Regions from separate parts of the Homo sapiens genome. Here regions 1, 2 and 4 are each linked to region 3. The links are contacts of gene promoters, found by promoter capture Hi-C in blood cells and fetal thymus (Javierre and others, 2016). All regions are on one chromosome and are shown on one strand. The core of a region is centred on a gene start or on the middle of the fragment in contact, and the rest is flanking DNA. Distances in the headings are between cores, read along the strand shown.

Evidence for each region. Contacts are between HindIII fragments. The CHiCAGO score rates a contact against its expected background, and 5 or more counts as called.
Region 1: a contact is called between a fragment that was not itself captured here and the fragment with the promoter of CRBN in region 3, in 7 of 17 cell types (naive B cells, total B cells, M2 macrophages and 4 more). The highest score is 9.1, in naive B cells.
Region 2: a contact is called between a fragment that was not itself captured here and the fragment with the promoter of CRBN in region 3, in 1 of 17 cell types (M2 macrophages). The highest score is 5.8, in M2 macrophages.
Region 4: a fragment that was not itself captured here is called in contact with the fragment with the promoter of CRBN in region 3 in 2 of 17 cell types (M2 macrophages and M0 macrophages); the score reaches 7.0 in M2 macrophages.

The regions. Positions count from the first base shown.
Region 1 is chr3:4,266,837-4,270,262 of GRCh38, reverse strand. It overlaps a transcript of SUMF1 not described here. Among named protein-coding and RNA genes, the nearest start is that of SETMAR, 35 kb to the left of the region's middle. The HindIII fragment of the contact is 2,894 bases long and covers 275-3,168 here.
Region 2 is chr3:4,208,456-4,211,913 of GRCh38, reverse strand. It overlaps a transcript of SUMF1 not described here. Among named protein-coding and RNA genes, the nearest start is that of SETMAR, 93 kb to the left of the region's middle. The HindIII fragment of the contact is 2,768 bases long and covers 407-3,174 here.
Region 3 is chr3:3,177,487-3,180,940 of GRCh38, reverse strand. CRBN (cereblon) reads left to right here and starts at 1,250. Exons shown (of 11, transcript NM_016302.4): 1 at 1,250-1,320. The coding sequence starts at 1,254. RefSeq lists a silencer at 1,017-1,186. The HindIII fragment of the contact is 7,719 bases long and covers 1-3,111 here.
Region 4 is chr3:4,248,550-4,251,831 of GRCh38, reverse strand. It overlaps a transcript of SUMF1 not described here. Among named protein-coding and RNA genes, the nearest start is that of SETMAR, 53 kb to the left of the region's middle. The HindIII fragment of the contact is 3,037 bases long and covers 260-3,282 here.

The DNA.
Region 1 (3,426 bases), core at 472-2,971, 1.1 Mb before region 3:
ATTACTTCAGTGCTTACTTCAGTGCTTAATTATTTCAATACTGAGGCTCCTTTATAAGGAGCCCAAGGTCATTGACTCAGCATCAGTGTATCATCAATTTAGTTTCCCTGATAGTCCGGCTCTGACCCCAGTTTCTTCGTTTGTTCCTCCTGAACCGTGGGTAAATGACCTACCTCTTCTGGGCCTTGGCTTTCTTATACATAAAATGTGATTAAAAATACCTTATTTGTAGTACTTCTGTGGGGACTAAATGAGATGGTAGCTGTAAAAAGCTTAGGACATAAGTCACTTAATACATGGTATCATTACTTCATCATCAGCTCTTCACCTTCAAAAAGTTCCCTCTTGTAGACTGTCCTTACACAGAGTGCAGGTAGCTAAGAGCAGCTTGTATTGTATACCCTACATTTTCTAGTCTGTCCAGAGAAGGATGAGAATTTAATAGGGCCAGATCCTCAGAGGGATGCATTTCTGGTAGAATTTTGTGCATTAGTAGTTGAATGGAAGTGCCATTGTGAGCTTCATGGCTTCCAATATTATTCCACTTAAGGAATTGGCCTGTCTTGCCTTTGGACTGTTGGGTTTTGGGAAATGTGAATTTTTGATTATCAGGATAACAACTCACCCATTCATTCTTTCTTTCCCCCGCTTCTGGTCTTTGTTAACTCTCCTCTGTCCTGTAGTGCTGCCTTATCTTCTGCAAATACCAAGTAATTTGGAATATGGCACTTTGGTTAAGATTGTTTGATATTTGCATGTATCTGCTAAACACGCTTTAATTATGATTCATGACTAGCTCTGGATTAAAATTGTATTTCTGAATTTAAGGTTTAAAAAATTGGAATGCTATTATAGGCCTTTGGTAAGTTTGTGTTGCTAATAGTGAATTATGAAGCGCAAACATTTCTGAGATACAATCCTGTAATTCTTTCATTCTTTGGGATGGGGGGAGTGGGGAGGGATAGCATTAACATGTTAAATGACGAGTTAATGGGTGCAGCACAGCAACATGGCACATGTATACATATGTAACTAACCTGCACATTGTGCACATGTACCCTAAAACTTAAAGTATAATAAAAAAATGATTCTGTGTGTATAAAGATCAAAAGACAGCCAAAACACATCTATGGCAGTGATTATTTTTGCTGTACAGCAGTATGAGGCAAGGATCATCACTGATCTGGGTGGTGTTTCCAGAGGTATGTTCACTTCCCTTTCTGTATGGTTAAAAAGTTACTTTAAAAATTAACACTTAAAAATATGTTTAAGACCATATTTTAGACCTATGAACAGTTTCCTTATACTACCGGAGCATGCTATGATTTGCAACTTAAGTGAAAGCATATATATATGTATATATACACACACGCACACACACACACATTCACTCTAAATGTCTTTTTTAAAGGTATTTTTTTTCTGTCCTGTGATGCTAAAATTAACTAGAAGAATGCATTAAGTAGCTAAGTGGAGAGTGGTTGAGTAGAAAATGCACATGATTTAAAGTTAATTAGATACGGGTTCAAGTTCAGTCTTTGCCATTTATTGGCTACTTAGCACTGGATAGATTTTTTTTTTAATCTGAGTTTCTGTGTATGTAAACAGGGGAAGTAATATTAAACCTGGTTGCTATTGTGATCATGGGAAGTAATAGAAGTATGTTTCTGAGTATGTAGTAGTGTTTCCTGTGCCAACAGAAGCTATCACACAACTGTGTAAACCTATCATTAAACATTGATCTGAAAAAAAAAAAAAAAAAAGAAAAACATTTTATTTTACTATGTAAAAGCAAATTGCGGGGTTTTATTATTATTTTTTCTTTTTTTATTATACTTTAAGTTTTAGGCTACATGTGCACAATGTGCAGGTTAGTTACATATGTATACATGTGACATGCTGGTGCGCTGCACCCACTAACTTGTCATCTAGCATTAGGTATATCTCCCAATGCTATCCCTCCCCGCCTCGTCATCTAGCATTAGGTATATCTCCCAATGCTATCCCTCCCCTCTCCCCCAACCCCACAACAGTCCCCAGAGTGTGATGTTCCCCCTCCTGTGTCCATGTGTTCCCATTGTTCAGTTCCCACCTGTGAGTGAGAATATGCGGTGTTTGGTTTTTTGTTCTTGACATAGTTTACTGAGAATGATGATTTCCAATTTCATCCATGTCCCTACAAAGAACATGAACTCATCATTTTTTATGGCTGCATAGTATTCCATGTTGTATATGTACCACATTTTCTTAATCCAGTCTATCATTGTTGGACATTTGGGTTGGTTCCAAGTCTTTGCTATTGTGAATAGTGCCACAATAAACATACGTGTGCATGTGTCTTTATAGCAGCATGATTTATAGTCCTTTGGGTATATACCCAGTAATGGGATGGCTGGGTCAAATGGTATTTCTAGTTCTAGATCCCTGAGGAATCGCCACACTGACTTCCACAATGGTTGAACTAGTTTACAGTCCCACCAACAGTGTAAAAGTGTTCCTATTTCTCCACATCCTCTCCAGCACCTGTTGTTTCCTGACTTTTTAATGATTGCCATTCTAACTGGTGTGAGATGATATCTCATTGTGGTTTTGATTTGCATTTCTCTGATGGCCAGTTATGGTGAGCATTTTTTCATGTGTTTTTTGGCTGCATAAATGTCTTCTTTTGAGAAGTGTCTGTTCATGTCCTTCGCCCACCACCGATCCCACAGAAATACAAACTACCATCAGAGAATACTACAAACACCTCTATGCAAATAAACTAGAAAATCTAGAAGAAATGGATAAATTCCTCGACACATACACTCTCCCAAGACTAAACCAGGAAGAAGTTGAATCTCTGAATAGACCAATAACAGGAGCTGAAATTGCGGTAATAATCAATACTTTACCAACCAAATAGAGTCCAGGACCAGATGGATTCACAGCCGAATTCTACCAGAGGTACAGGGAGGAACTGGTACCATTCCTTCTGAAACTACTCCAATCAATAGAAAAAGAGGGAAACCTCCCTAACTCATTTTATGAGGCCAGCATCATTCTGATACCAAAGCCGGGCAGAGACACAACCAAAAAAGAGAATTTTAGACCAATATCCTTGATGAACATTGATGCAGAAATCCTCAATAAAATACTGGCAAACTGAATCCAGCAGCACATCAAAAAGCTTATCCACCATGATCAAGTGGGCTTCATCCCTGGGATGCAAGGCTGGTTCAATATGCACAAATCAATAAATGTAATCCAGCATATAAACAGAACCAAAGACAAAAACCACATGATTATCTCAACAGATGCAGAAAAGGCCTTTGACAAAATTCAACAACCCTTCATGCTAAAAACTCTCAATAAATTAGGTATTGATGGGACGTATCTCAAAATAATAAGAGCTATCTATGACAAACCCACAGCCAATATCATACTGAA
Region 2 (3,458 bases), core at 541-3,040, 1.0 Mb before region 3:
TTTTTCAGAGATGCCCTGCCCAGAGAGGAGAACTCTGGCAGTTTGGCTGCGGAGGCCTTGCTGAACTGCAGTGGGCTCCTCCCAGTTCGAACTTCCTGGCTGCTTTGTTTACACTATGAGCATAAAACCACCTACTCCTTGCTAAGACTTGATGTATTATCAGTTCTTATAATTTTAGCCAATCTGGTGAGGATGAAGTGATATTTAATTGTGGTTTTACCTTATAGTACCAATACCTTGTAGTTTATAGTCTAATGGCATCTTTTGGAGAATTGAAGATCTTAATTTAAATGAAGTTGAACTTGTCTATGTTTTTTAAATGATTGGAGTTTTCTGTGTCCGGTTTAAGTAATCTTCCTTACCTCAAGGTCATGAAGATATTCTCTTATATTTTCCTCTGGAAGCTTTATTATTTTCTCTTTCATGTTTACCTCTTTCAAAAGCTGGAGGCCATTATCTTAGCAAACTAATGCAGGAATAGAAAATAAAATACTGCATGTTCTCACTTATTAATTGGAGCTAAATGATGAGAACACATGGACACAGAGAGGGGAACAACACATACTAGGGCCAACTGGAGGGTGGAGGTTAGAGGAAGGAGAGGATCAGGAAAAATAACTAATGGGTACTAGGCTTAGTACCTGGGTATATTAGTCAGGGTTCTCTAGAGAAACAGAACTAATAGGATATATATATATATATATATATATGTATGTATGTATATGTATATGTATATATATGTGTGTATATATATGTATATATATGTATATGTATATATGTGTGTGTGTGTGTATATATATATATATATATGGGAGTTTATTAAGGAGTATTAACTCACACAATCACACGGTCCTGCAACAGGCCATCTGCAGGCTGAGGAGCAAGGAAACCAGTCTGAGTCCCAAAGCTGAAGAACTTGGAGTTGATGTTTGAGGACAGGAAGCCTCCATCACAGGAGAAAGATGTATGCTGGGAGGCTATGCCAGTCTAGCCTTTTTATGATTTTCTGCCTGCTTTATATCCTGGCTGTATTGGCAGCTGATTAGGTGGTGCCCACCCAGATCAAGGGTGGGTCTGCCTTTCCCAGCCCAGCGACACAAATGTTAATCTCCTTTGGGAACACCCTCACAGACACACTCAGGATCAATACTTTGCATCCTTCAACCCAATCCAGTTGACACTCAGTGTTAACCATCACATGGGGTGATGAAATAATCTGTATAATAAATGCCCATGTTACAAGTTTACCTGTGTAAAAAACATGCACATATACCCCTGAACTTAAAAGTTAAAAAAAAATTTTTGTGCATTGTGGAATTTAAGAGTCAAGGTTCCTCTTTCTCCATATAGTTTTCCAATGATCCAGCACCATTTATGGGGACTGGGAAAGGGTCGTTCTTTCCCCTTTGAACTTCAGTGGTATGTAAATTGGTGACAATATGTGTGGGTCTAATTCTGGGCTGTCTTTATTCTGTTCCATTGGTGTATATACCACATTGCCTTAGTTATTGTAGCTTTTTTCTAAGTATTAACATTTGGTTGTGTAAATCCTCAAGTTTTGTTCTTTTTCAAGATTGTATTGGCTTTTCTAGGTCATCTGTGTTTTCATGTACATTTTCCAATAAATGTAGAAAATGTCTGCTGGAATTTTTATTTGGATTGCATTGAATTTATGGATACATTTTGAGGAGAATTGACATGTTAATATTTCTAAGTTTTGGCCGGGCACAGTGGCTCACACCTGTAATCCCAGCACTTTGGGAGGCTGAGGCAGGCAGATCACTTGAGGTCAGGAGTTCAAGACCAGCCTGGCTAACATGGTGAAACCTTGTCTCTACTAAAAATACAAAAATTAGCCAGGTGTGGTGGAACACACCTGTAATCTCAGCTACTCGGGAGGCTGAGGCAGGAGAATTGCTTGAACCCAGGAGGTGGAGGTTACAGTGAGCTGAGATCGTGCCACTGCACTCCAGCCTGGGTGACAGAGTGAGACTCTGCCTCAAAAAAAATTTTTTTTTCTAAATTTTAAAATCCATGAATATTTATTTTGGCCTTCTTTAATTTCTCTCAGCAATCTGTGGTAGTCTTTAGCGTAGTGATCTTATACATAGTTTGATAAATGTATTCCCAAGTATTTGATGTCTTTTATTGCAATTTAAATGCTTATCTTTCTAAAATTATATTTTCCAGTTACTTGTTAGCATATAGTTGATTTTGATGTTCAGTAATTTTCATGTGTTTAAGGATCATTTGGTGTTTCTTTTTCTGAATGTTATTTTTCTATTATATTGTTGTTTTTTTCTTCTTGATCTCTAAGATCTAATAAATTTGGAATAATATTTTGTCTGGGCTTTTAATTATAAACATTTTTCTTAGATTGTCATTTGTGATAAAGTTTAATTTTAAACTTTCCTTATAGATTAAATAATTTAAATACTGGAAGGATCTTAGAAGTATTCTCATCGAACTTTATTATTTTACAATGAGGAGACTGCAACTTAGGATGTTTAAGTGATTAAGGTTCAACTACCAGGTAATGACAGAAACTGAATTTGAATAAAGTTTCAGTTAGTGTTTTGTTCTCCATGATGTTTGCACATAATTAAACAGTACCTTGTATTATGGCATGGTTGATTTTTGTATGTAGGATTTTAAAAATCTTTATAGTAGAGTGTAAAATTTATACATATTGGAAATTGTAGGTCCTTAAAGTCAACTGCAGCAGCACGTATATAATAGGTACCCAATAAAATTTTATTGAATTGAATCATTAAAAGGATAATATCCCATAAAGTGGCCAGGTCTAGATGTTTTAACTGGAGAATCTTGTGAAGTATTTAAGGAAGAAATCATACTGATTCTACACAAACTTTTTCAGAAAACAGATAGGAGAGAACTTCTACCCAACTCATTTTAATGAAGCCAGACAAAGCTGACAAAGACATCACAAGAAAACTATAGACCAATATCCTTCATGGACACAGATGCAAAAATCCTTAACAAAATATTAATCTGAGTCTAGCAACAGATCTCTTTCTTCTCTTTCTGATATTCCCATTGTGCATATGTTACCTCTTTGGTTTCCTCTTTGGTTGTTGTCCAGCAGTTCTTGGATTTTATGTTAGTCTTTTTTCTTTTCAGTTTGGAAAGTTTCTATTGTCACATACTCAAGCTTGGGGTTTTTTTCCTTAGTCACGTCCAGTCTACTAATGAGCCCATTAAAGACGTTCTTCATTTCTACTACAGTGTTTTTGATGTCTGGCATGTCTTTTGGTTCTTTCTTAGAATTTTCGTCTCTCCGCTTGTTACTCATCTTTTCTGCCATTAACCTTAGCATATTAATTGCAGTTAAAAAAATCCTAGTCTGATAATTTTAACATTTCTACCATATCTATCTCTGGTTATGATGCTTGTTTTGTCTCCTCACAGTTTTTTTTTTTTTTTGCCTTCTAGAATGT
Region 3 (3,454 bases), core at 1-2,500:
CGTTAAATCATTACGTAGTATATGTAATTGTTATTAACCTCATCGTAAAAGGTGATGCTATGATTCATGTTGCAGACATTATTAACTGGAACAAATAGGCGACACTATTTGGTTCGTTCTTATTTTGCAAATGGGCGAATTGAGGCCCGCAGCCATAAGTGATTTGACGAAGACCACAGACTGATTCGGAGACAGGAGGCAAAATGACACAGGAATGATTCACAAGCCTCTGTCACAAGGGAGTTTTCTGCTTGTAACTTATCAGGGAGGCAAATTTTCTGAAATCATTTTTTCAAATCTCAGATCCATGACTTTTCTGTTGAGCAATGCTGCTGCTTCCTCTCAGCCTCCGCCCACCACCACCACTACCATGTTTAGATGTTGTATTTCATTTAAGGATTTTTCAGTTTTCCTTCCTCGCTGAAAAAGTGATACTGAAATACACTACGAAAACTTTTGTCCTCCCTCCAAAACAAATATCTTACCAGTCACAACTCCACCATTATAACAGAATTATCTTCATTTTTTACATAGTCTTTCTTTTTTGCCACAGTGACTTGTTTTTACATAGCTGAAGTCATAATGAGTAGGCTAGTTTATATTCAGACAATTTTATTTACCAATTATAAGGCGTTTTCCATTCTGTGCAATCATCATTTCAAGTATGTTTCTGATTAATACTTGTTAATTTTGGAATGTAATGTACATATATGGAAACTACTGAAGTTATTGAAGTTGTATGTACATACATTGAAACTACTGAAGAAAATCAGCAATAATTCAACCACCCTCGGAATAACTGATGGATTTCCCCAGCCTTCACATATATGCTTCTTATTTTAAGAATTGAAACTAATGCTGCATGAACAGGTTTCTATTTGCTCCCTGCCCCCTTCGTTTAAAAACAAGGTGGAGACTAAAGGCTCTCAGCCTCAGTTTCTCCATATGCAAAATATCAGGATTAAATAAGTCATGCTAAGGGCTGGAACAAAGTGAGGGCTCTGCAGCGTGTACGCCGGGCACTCAGCCGTGGATGGCAGGGGACGGCGTTCTGTCCCCGGGACGGAGCGCAGGCCTGTAATTGTCCCTCCCGCCTAGGCCATCACTTTCAGGCTTGGGTACGCGCCGCCGTCTGCTCCCCTGGGGCCGCCAGGGGGCGCTGTGGCCCCGGTGCGCGGCAGCCGCGCGACACGGGCCCTCCCTCGGAGTCTTCGGCACCGCCCTGTCCCAGCCTCCTTTGCGGGTAAACAGACATGGCCGGCGAAGGAGATCAGCAGGACGCTGCGCACAACATGGGCAACCACCTGCCGCTCCTGCCTGGTAACCGCCCGGAGTAGTTCCCTGTAGTCGGGAGTGGGGCGAGGCTCGGAGCCGCTAGCGGTGCAGCTGGGCCTGGGAGGCGGGCGTGGGGGCGCCAAGCCTGGCGAGCCAGCCCAGCAGGGCCGCACCGGAAAGCTGCTTCACGTCGGCCCTCGGCCAGCGATGGAGTCGCGGCGCTTTCTTCGCTGCTCTGTTGCCCCGAGCCGTGAGCCAGGGTGTCGGGGGGAGCATTTGCTATTAAGAACAGGAAACCCATCCTCTCCATCCTCCTTGTGTTCTGAGTTTAGCTCCTAGGAAATGCTCTGAAACTAGAGGACCGGGTCAGATTCACAGCGGTTACTTTTGCTGGTCTCCTTCCTTTTAATAAGAGTGACAGCTAACATGTACTAAGCACTTACCATGTTACGAGCCGTGCAGTTAACGCTTTGCATGCATGTCGCCTTTTAATCCTTCCCACATCAGTTTTCAGTTTCCGATTTGATAAGCGAGTATTGGATTTGCAGATTAGTTCAATGACTTGCCCAAGGTCACACAGCAGAGTCAGGATTCCAACCCGGGTGTGTCTGTCATTATATCTCTAAACCACTTCTCTGTTTTGTTTTTCTTACTATCGGTCTTTCTCAGGCATGTACGATTATGCTTAATCAGAGATACTTAGTTTTTCTTTTTCCTGTATGTTGTGTGAAATGTTTAGACTTTGGCCTTGTGTTGAAATACTGAACAAAAAAAAAAATGCATGGAATATTGCATAAACTTTTCATGGAATGCCTTTCAAGAGATGCTTTCCAAAAGGTGTATCATCCAAACTTGAAAGTATTACTTGAGTCCCTTCGTTATATGACAAGTATGTTAGGTGTTGTGGAGATGAAACGAGAGGTAATACACAATCTGATAATTGAGGTTTACTGTCTAGGCGGGGCTGCTGAGAATATAACTAAACGTAAATCAACTGCAGAGGCGGTTGATTTAGGGCCAGATAAATGAATGCTGTTGTGGCTCTTCAGAGGCAGAGGTTGTTTAAGGGTCAGAGGATTTGGGAAAAAGCCTTTCAGGTAGATCAGGAGACATCTAAAAGCACATATTTAGGATATGGTTGTGGGACATAAGGCCTAGGAGGTATATTGGGTCTAAGTTGCTGGGAAACTGGCATCTCTTGCCAGTGGGTTTGGGTTTTTCCTGTGGATTGCCAAGAAACAGTTTTAGGTTTCAGGTAATTGCCTAAAGAAATCTATGCTTGGAAGATTAATTTGTCCACTGGTAGCAGCATGGATTAAAAGAGGAAGAGACTGAGTGCGTGCCCACCATATAGGAGAGAACTTTTCTGTAAAAATAAACCATAGTCACTGGTTGTTCTCGAAGCCATTCTAGCTGAGTTGACACAAGGGTAAGTGTGCCAGCCTTTGATGGAAAGCTGAGCTATTTTTTCAGAGACATTAGCCCTACTCTCTGTGCCAAATCCGGTGTTTCAGGGAGAATGGTGAATAGAAGAGGGAGGATACTGATCTTCTGTCGACATTCACATCGTGCCTCTGCATGAGATGAGTCATCAGACTTCACTGATAGCTCTGAACAGTCAGCGTGGTTTTTTGTTTGTTTTTTTTTTGTTTGTTTTGTTTTGTTTTTTGTTTTTCAGAAAAGCGTCGGGAGAGGGCCCAGAGATGGTGTAGATATAGCAATAATGCCTCTCCAAATTACGTAAATTTTATTTGTAGGGAAACACTGGGCTTTCCATAATTCCATGTAGTACGAGTTGTTCTGAAGAGTAAATCCTCTAAGTTCCAACAAAAAGCTTTATATTTGAGATGTGAAGAGTTTATCCTAGGCAAATGAAACATTAATAAACATAACTGAGTAGGGGAAAGTGGTTTTTAGCCATATTTATGAAAAAAAGGTTACTAAAGAAATTATTTAGAGACTAGGAGTCAGAACAGTTAAAATGTAAATTTTTAACAATATTAATTCCAGCCTTTGAGCTAATAGTTTATCTTTTAAACTTTCTGTAGTAGAGCAATAAAGTGGGTTGTGCTGCATGCCAAGTGATAGCCATACTGTCAGAGTTGGAAATACAAACAATTTGATGCAGAATATTTTTGTCATCCATTTAGATAGCTCTTTTTTTATCTCAGTGAAACTT
Region 4 (3,282 bases), core at 529-3,028, 1.1 Mb before region 3:
TGAGTTATCTTTTTGCCATTGTAGGGTCTTGCCTTGATATTGATGGTCCCTGACTGATGAAGGTGGTTACACTAAACAACAGATTTTCAATGTAGGTAAAACAGCCTTATAATAGAAGAAGATGCTATCTGGCATTTTCAAAGCTAGAGAGAAGCCTAGCTTCAAACCTTCAAAGGATTGACTGTCTGAATATTCACCAGGATGGAGGTCACTGAAAGTTGGGGTGGCTGTGGTAATTTCTTAAGACAACAATGAAGCTTGCCACATCAATGGACTTTCTCTTTCAGAAAAGATTTCTCTGTAAAGCATGTGATGATGTGCATTTTACACACAGAACTTCTTTCAAAATTTGAGTCAATCCTCTCAAACCCTGCTGCTGCTTTATTGACTAAATTGATGTAATATTACAAATCCTTTGTTGTCATTTCAACAATGTTGACAGCATCTTCACCAGGAGTAGATTCCATCTCAAGAAATCACTTTCTTCACTCATCCATAAGAAGCAACTCCTCATCAGTGAAAGTTTTATAATGAGATTGCAGCAATTCAGGCTCCACTTCTAATTCTAGTTCATTTGCTATTTCTACCACATAGGCAGTTACTTCCTCCACTGAAGTCTTGGACTTCACAAAATCATCCACGAAGTTTGGAATCAGCTTTTTCCAAACTCCTATTAGTGCTGATATTTTGACTTCCATGCATCATGAATGTTCTTAATGGTATCTAGAATGGTGAATCCTTTCCAGAAGGCTTTCAATTTGCTTTGCCTAGGACCATCAGAGGAATCATTATCTATGGCAGCTATAGCCTTATGAAATTTATTTCTTAAATAAAAGGACTTGAAAGTCAAGATTACTCCTTGATCTATGGAATGCAGAATGAATATCGTTAGGAGGTGTGAAAACAACATTCATCTCCTTGTTTATAAGCTCCATTTGAACCCGTGGGTAAACAGGTACATTATCAATGAGCAGTACTATTTTGAAAGTAATCTTTTTTTCTGATTAGCAAGTCTCAACAGTGGGCTTAAATATCCAGTAAATCATGCTGTAAACAGACATGATTGCATCTCGGCTTTGTTATTCCATTTAAGCAGATTAGAATTAGCATAATTCTTAAGGGCCCTAAGATTTTCAGAATGGTCAATGAGCACTGGCTCCAACTTTAAGTCACCGGTTGTGTTAGCCTCTAACAAGAGAGTCTGCCTATTCTTTGAAGTGTTGAACCCAGGCATTGACTTTTCCTCTCTAGCTATGAAAATACTAGATGGCCTCTACTTCCAGTATAAGGCTGTTTCATCTACATTGAAAATCTGTTGTTCAGTGTCGCTACCTTTATGAATTATCTTGGCTATATCTTCTGGATAGCTTGCTGCAGCTTCTCCATCCGCTCTTGCTTCTTCACCTTGCACTTTCATGTTCAGGAAATGGCTTTTCTCAAACCTCATGAGCCAACGTCTGCTAGATTACTTTCTTTCCTTTCTTTCCCTTCCCTTCCTTCCCTCCCTCCCTTCTTCTCTCCCTCCTTCCCTCCTTCCCTCTTCCCTTCCTTCCCCCTTTCCCCCTCTTTCCCTTTTCCTTTCCCTCTCCCTCACCCTCTCCCTTTCTTTCTTTCCTTTCTTTTCTCTCCCTTCACTCCCTCCCCCTTCCCCCTCCGTTTCTTGTCTTGATCTGTTGGCTGGAGGGCAATGGCACAATCTTGGCTTCCACTAACCTCTGCCTCCTGTGTTCAAGCGATTCTTGTGCCTCATGTCCTGAGTAGTTGGGATTACAGGTGTGTGCCACTATGCCTGGCTAATTTTTGTATTTTTAGTAGAGACAGCATTTTACTATGTTGGCCAGGCTGGTCTCAAACTCCTGGCCTCAAGTGATCTACCTGCCTCGGCCTCCCCCAAGTGCTGGGATTAGAGGCATGAGCCACTGCCCCTGGCCCAATGAGACTCTTTTGCATTCTTATCATTTGTGTGTTGACTGGAGGAGCACTTTTAATTTCCTCGGAGAAGTTTTCCTTTGCATTCACAACTTAGGTAACTGGTACAAGAGGCCTAGCTTTCAGCCTTTGTTGACTTTCAATGTGCCTTTTTCACTAAGATTCATAATTTCTAACTCTCTTGATTTAAAGTGAGAGACGTGTTTTTACTTAAAAACTTAGAGGCCATTTTAGGGTTATTAGTTGGCATAATTTCAATATTGCTGTGTCTCAGGGAATTGGGAGGCCTGGAGGAGAGGGTAAAGAAGGGAATGACCAGTTGGTAGAGCAGTCAGAACACAAACATTTATTAAGTTTGCCATCTTATATGGACGTGATTTGTGGTGCCCCCAAACAGTTACAATAGTAACATCAAAGATTACTGATTATAGACCACCATGACAGATAAAATAATAATAAAAATTTGAAATATTGCGAGAATTACCAAAACGTGACACAGAGACATGAAGTGAGCATATGCTGTTGGAGAAAATGAGGCCAATAGACTTAGACTCAGAGTTGCTATAAACTTTCAATTTGTAAACAATGAAATATCTGTGAAACACAATAAAGTGAAGCAGAATAAAATAAGACTGTCTGTATATTATATTTGGTTTTGGCACTCAGTAGAATGCATAGTTCATAGCAGACTAAAATTCCTTTGATATTTGATTTGCTGAATGCCAAATTATACCCACTCTGCTAGAGAACACAGAACTTATTTTCTCTACTGATTTTGAAGCCAATGCATTAAGAAGATACCTTCTGAGTTAGGAGCAGGTGACCCCATGTGCCTCATGGGCCAAGTGGCTCCAGGCACACCAGCAAGGCCACTCAGTGAGAAGTGAAGGAGAAGGGGACGAAAGATCATGCAGATGCACATGCACATGAACTGCCACGGCCACTGGTGGTCTGTTTGTGTTCTTGATCCCATGTCAGGGCTCTTTGAGTCAGCTGATCCTCTCAGCAAGTCTGCAGGCCACAGTGTGGGTAGGTGGGAATGTCCGGTTTTCCTCCATACCACATGCAGGCTCTAGGAACATGTTGCTCTCATCAACACTTTCTTTTCCTATACTTGTTTCCTTCTGTCTATAGTTCTCTTTTTCTTCAATAGCCACCCCATGTTGCTAGATTATACACTGAATGATTGCATTTCCCTGGGATTCCAGGTGGAAGCAGGAAAAAAGTCCCTTTTGCTTTTGGATTCTAAAGTGTAGCTGAGGGGTGGGATGTTTCTTATATCAATTCTCCCATTCCAGAAATGAAATCTCAGGTATGTGGTGATGCAAGGGGGGATGTGGCAGAAGCCCTCAA